Regions from separate parts of the Homo sapiens genome. Here region 2 is linked to region 1. Evidence: promoter capture Hi-C in 16 types of primary human blood cells and fetal thymus (Javierre and others, 2016). All regions are on one chromosome and are shown on one strand. The core of a region is centred on a gene start or on the middle of the fragment in contact, and the rest is flanking DNA. Distances in the headings are between cores, read along the strand shown. Region 1 holds the start of TCEANC (transcription elongation factor A N-terminal and central domain containing). Region 2 holds the start of TLR7 (toll like receptor 7).

Evidence for each region. The method cuts DNA at HindIII sites, captures the fragments that hold promoters and counts their contacts. A CHiCAGO score of 5 or more calls a contact.
Region 2: a contact is called between the fragment with the promoter of TLR7 here and the fragment with the promoter of TCEANC in region 1, in 1 of 17 cell types (monocytes). The highest score is 5.6, in monocytes.

The regions. Positions count from the first base shown.
Region 1 is chrX:13,651,807-13,654,566 of GRCh38, forward strand. TCEANC (transcription elongation factor A N-terminal and central domain containing) reads left to right here and starts at 1,335. Exons shown (of 5, transcript NM_001297563.2): 1 at 1,335-1,382. It overlaps LOC107985657 (a long non-coding RNA gene), which reads right to left and starts at 1,633. Exons shown (of 1, transcript NR_171573.1): 1 at 691-1,633. RefSeq lists enhancers at 1,018-1,207, 1,468-1,557 and a silencer at 1,136-1,447. The HindIII fragment of the contact is 12,822 bases long and covers 1-2,760 here.
Region 2 is chrX:12,865,555-12,868,352 of GRCh38, forward strand. TLR7 (toll like receptor 7) reads left to right here and starts at 1,518. Exons shown (of 3, transcript NM_016562.4): 1 at 1,518-1,569; 2 at 1,927-2,027. The coding sequence starts at 2,025. RefSeq lists enhancers at 2,356-2,425, 2,446-2,565. The HindIII fragment of the contact is 8,610 bases long and covers 282-2,798 here.

The DNA.
Region 1 (2,760 bases), core at 85-2,584:
TTGCAGTGGTACCTATGTCTATCTCAATGGTCCTGAATAAAGTCTTCCTTACCATGCTTTAACAAGTGACAAGTGTCATTAAATAATTTTTTTTTTTTGAGACCAAGTCTTGCTCTGTCGCTAGGCTGGAGTGCAATGGCTCGATCTCAGCTCACTGCAACCTCCGCCTCCCGGGTTCAAGCGATTCTCCTGCCTCAGCCTCCCAAGTAGCTGGGATTACAAGCACGTGCCACCACGCCTGGCTAATTTTTTGTATTTTTAGTAGAGACGGGGTTTCACCGTGTTAGCCAGGATGGTCTCGATCTCCTGACCTCATGATCCGCCTGCCTCGACCTCCCAAAGTGCTGGGATTACAGGCATGAGCCACCACGCCCAGCCAAATAATTTTTTCTTTAAAAAGGTATTATATAATCCTTAAACATTTTAGCCCTATAATAGACAGCAAGAAAAAAGTAACCCCTGACAGCTCTGAGCTGCCCCGGCAGTCACAGCTGGGCCTTGGTGCTGCGTGGAACATAAATACTTCACAGAACACCATCAGACGTGGCCACTCTTTGACCAGATGGATCAAGACAAAAACAAGACTCCTTCGTAATCACGTGGGAATGCTGAAAAAACGTAAACATTGTCCAAACCACAAAAATGACCAAACATCCCCTATCCCAGTTAATGAGTCACTGGTCTTGTCTCCCCTCCTTTTAGGTAAGATTTATTATGATACTTAATCATACAATCGCCCTCCTTCCTGCCAGCACCCAGTCCAGAGTATTGGATTGGATACTCTGTTTCCCTGAACCTTTCCCCAAATTACCTTGGGGTAAGGCATCAGCAAAGGAGGCTGTCACATTCGTTCAACCATCACTGTGCTTTTACTGGCCCTTTGCAGGCAAAGAATGAGAATATGCACAGATGAGAAGTCCAGGATGCACAAGACCACTCAATTAACATTTACTACTTTCATATCAACTGATGCATGCTAGGATGCTAAAAACACTTTTTGAATTAATTACTGCGTTAAATAGATTCACATTTATGTCTACAGTTATGTGAACATCTAGCTGAGCACTGTCTTGACTGTCCTGAGTAGAAGCAGAAAAGATAAGTTGTAAAGTACATCAACAAACTTTGCTGCTAAAAAACGAAAGTGCAGTTTCTTTCTCTCGGGCCCGGGGCGGGGCCATGGCTCCTCCTCTAGGAAGCCGCGCGAGCGCAGTCCCACGGCAGCCATTTCCCTAGCGCGCATGCACTGGGTCCCAGGACCACGTGCGCCGGCCTGTGGGCTTGGATTGGCTGAGCCTTGACGTTGTCCCAGTCCCGGTGATCGGAAGTTCTCCGTGGGCACTGGGCGGCTGAAGGCTCCGGAACTGCGCCTGCGCTTTTCGGTGAGTCATGCTTCAGGTTTGCCAGGGCCTGTGTCCCGCAAAAAGGCGAGCCCTTATTCCCAGCGGAAGCCCACCCCGGCTCGCGGCAGCTTTCCGGTGCGCCCTGGGCGGCGTAGATCCGAAGGTGCTCGCACCCCCGCCCCTTCCTCTCCGACTGTCGAGGTCGCCAGAGTGGGCTGAACCCTCGGGACTGTCGCTGTTTGTGTGCTGGGTGCCGGGCCGTCATCCCAAGATGATTAGCGGCAGGCTTTGCATGTTGCTCGACCCCACCCACCGGAACTCGAACCCGGGCTAGACCGGGCAGTTGGGCTGGTCCCTTCCTCTCGCTGCACCTTTACTAGGGGTCACCATTAAGGGAAATGGTCCTAGTGCAGTGCTGAGTGGCTGTTCAGTAACCGCTACACCGCTGCCAACATTTGGCATCGTTTCTCTCCATAGAGGGCGGGGCTCCCTGTGAAGCTGGGGAGCTGTTAAGTGGGTTAGGGCTAGAAAGTTACAGTTTCTCTTTAGGCTTTAAAGAGATCTAAAGATCTGAACAGATCTAGGTTATTTTTGACTTGTTACAAACTTCTGGAAACATTGTTTCCAGACCTTTCCTCTCGTTCTTCTCAGGGTTTAGGCCATTTTTGTGCAGATGTGTGCACCTTGCTTACTATAATATTAGCTAATCTTTATAAGTTTTTATATGGATCCAATACCATATTTCGTGCCTACTTTTCCTGGCACTGTATACACTTTTTGGTATAGGTATGCACCTAAGCAAGCATTATCCATATTAGCATCAGTTCTAGAACCGTGGCGTCCCAATAATGATAGCCATTAGTTACATAAGGCTTGATCACTTGAAATGTGGCTAGTCCGAATTGAGATGTGCTGTAAGTGTAAGACACAGTGAATTTTCGAGAATTAGCATGAAAAAGAATGTAAAATATCTCAATTTGTTTATATTAATCACATGTTGAAATGACTATTCTGGATACACTGGGTTAAATAAAATGTATAATTAATTTCACCAATTTTTATTTTTTAACATGACTACTGGAAAATTTTAAATCATATTTGTGGTTTACATGTTATATATATGTTGCACAGCCCTGCTCTAGAAAAGGGTCAACAAACTATGGCCTGCAGCCAAATCCAGCCTGCCTGTTTTTGTAAACAAGTGTTACCAGAGCAAGATCATGCCTATCCATTTATGTTATTTTCTGTATCTGCTGTTGCTGCTACAATAGCAGCAGAGTTGAGTAGTCCATAGAGATTGTATGGCCTACAAAGCCTAGAATATATACCTTCTGATCTTTAACAGAAAAAGTGTGCTGACCCCCTGCTGTAGAACAATGCCTGGTTTGGTAGATATTTTTAAGCCTTTTAATTGTAG
Region 2 (2,798 bases), core at 268-2,767, 790 kb before region 1:
GAGAAGGAACGATTACTGGAATTCAGGGAGGAGAGCATCACCAAACAAGAGCTTCATTAGAGGACTGCAGCCAACGCAGGGCCAGGCGGAGGGAGCCAGAGGGAGGCAGGCTCTGCTCTCCCTCTTCCTGCCCTTCAGTTTCCAACCACGGCCTCCTATTGGCCAAACCCAACCAGAAGCCAGCGAGCAAGGGGCTACTGATGAAGCACATATAGCTCAGCCTCCAGAGACACAGAACAGGATAAAAGGCTGAGACAGTGGGTCTGGTGGGGCAAAGAGAAAGCTTGCACCTGCCAGGTAAAGCATTATAGTCCCCATCCTCCCCCCACCACCTTAGTTCTTGTGCATTTCCCATCAGTTTTCTTCCAAAGCATTTCAGATCTCACTGATTTGAATGGGACCTCTTCTTCTATTACCAATTTGGATCAGTAATTATTTATGTATGAGAAAACTATTGATTTTTACATATCGTTGCATAGCAGAGTGGTTTAATAAGGAGACATTTGGTTTTTACTGCCTGTGTGGGTATCACTTGCTATGTGACTTGAGGCAAATCCAATATTTCTTCTGTTATAAATTCCAGTATTTGTAAAAAATGGGTAATAAGATCTCTATTTTATATAGTTTTAGTATTTAATGAGATAATACATATAAAGTCATTAAAACAGTGTCTGGCTCATAAAAAACCCTCAATAAATGTCACTTATTACTGTATCTGGTTTTTGAGCTGCTCTATTGCACCATTGAGTTTTCAGCCCAGTATATGTTAACCCTGATCATTATCTGCAGAAGTCCCCGTGCCACACTCTACATCATCCAAATTCTCTCCAGGTGGACTAAGTAGATTAAAGAACTTTAAACATAACTACCATATTTTGGCTCTATCTACAAAATGTCCAATAATCAGTTAAGAAAGGAACAATTCTCTTGGGGCCCACACTTTGAGAAGCAAATGCAGCTGAACTTTTTTAGAGGAAAGTGAGTGAACCAACTGGTAGCTTTGCCACTGCTTAAAAACCAGCATCCTTTCCAGCTGGGTCTAAGACAGAATAAGGTAAATTTAGATATGTCTCTAATATATCTATAGAACAGTGGTTCTCAACCCGGGGTGTTTTTGCCCCTTAGGGGATAATTTGCAATGTCTGGAGACATCTGTGATTGTCATAACTGGAAGGGGGCAGTGCTATTGGCATCTAGTGGGTATAGAGCAAGGGTGCTACCAAATATCCTATGGTGCAACAGAGAATTATCTGGTCAAAAATGTAAATAGTGCTGAGGGTGAGAAACCCTGCTATAAAAACGAAAGAAATTTGGTCTACAGAGTTGTTTGGATTTAGACAAGACGTTGCCCCAATAGTGGTGATAGAAATAAGAGGAACCCCGTGCTTTTGCAAAGCCCATATCTGGGGTGGCTTAAATAATCATGCTCCTCCCCATCCCCCGACCTGATCTTTGTAGTTGGAAACTCCAGGGCTGGCTGCCTGTAGTCTTTGTGACTACACTTCCTGCCTCCCATCACTTCATCTCAGAAGACTCCAGATATAGGATCACTCCATGCCATCAAGAAAGGTATTTTAAACATTGGAACACATATAGATAATTTAAGTAGGTAGATGTATGTGCTGTTATAAGGAAGTGGGGAGGAGAGAAGAGGGAACCGAAATCATATGCACAAAAATTTTTTTTAGAATATAAATAAAAAATGTGGTAGTCTAAAATGTCAATTCTTCAAAGATAAAGTTAGGCTTTCAGTAACGTTAGAAATGGTTTTCTGGAATATGTCTCCAGTCTACCTAACTTTGAGGAAGTAAATACTGTAAATAGATGTTTCAAACGCATTTTAAAGCAATGATCCTAGCATGTCTTTAAGCTACAGTATTGTGCTGTCTTTGAAATGTAAACTTTGATGTCTTCTCTTTCTCTTAGTTGATGCTATTGGGCCCATCTCAAGCTGATCTTGGCACCTCTCATGCTCTGCTCTCTTCAACCAGACCTCTACATTCCATTTTGGAAGAAGACTAAAAATGGTAAGAACAGCTCAGAGAACCTTAAAAAGTGTTATCTGTAATCTTTGTGGAAACAACTGAAACCAGCTGGCAAGAGCAATATTGAAGAATCTGTACTTAGGTTATTTGCTGGGGGAAAGTGCTTCCTGATATTTCACAATTGGCATTAATGAAGGGGGCATGTCACAATTTCAGATTAATCAACGCTTGCTCTGTTCAACTTCCTACAAGAATTAAATATGTGCTGTGGGGAGGAGGAGCAGATGTTTGAATTGGGGACATAGCTTCTATGTATCTCATTTCTTCAGCCTACAATTTTGGCTTTAAAGCCATAACAAATCACTGAATTACTGAAGTTACTTTGTGCTTTTTCCAGCATATGGTGTTGTCTTAATGACTGTGTGGATGAAAGTGTGTGGGCAGGCTCATAGCAATAAAATACGGGAAATCCCCGGGCTTGAGTGCTGTCAAAGAAAACTAAATTTGGACAGTAGATAAAGATACTATCAGGACTATTGCAATCGGCAGAAAGAGACCTCAGTATAGAAAGGGGCTCAATTCCAAATACAGCCAAAGACCAGTAAAGATTTCTGGCCAAGGAGTAGAGTGGGGGTCAGTGGATGGAAAATTACTAAGAGGAAACATCAAGGGTAAAAGGATTCTGGCTAAACCGACCTGACAGGATTCTTGCTGAAGACAGGCCAGGGTGATCAGACCTCACCTGTGGATGGTGGGAGATGAGGAATTTGATCAGATATTGAGGGTGATCACATACCAAGAGGAGTGGATTAT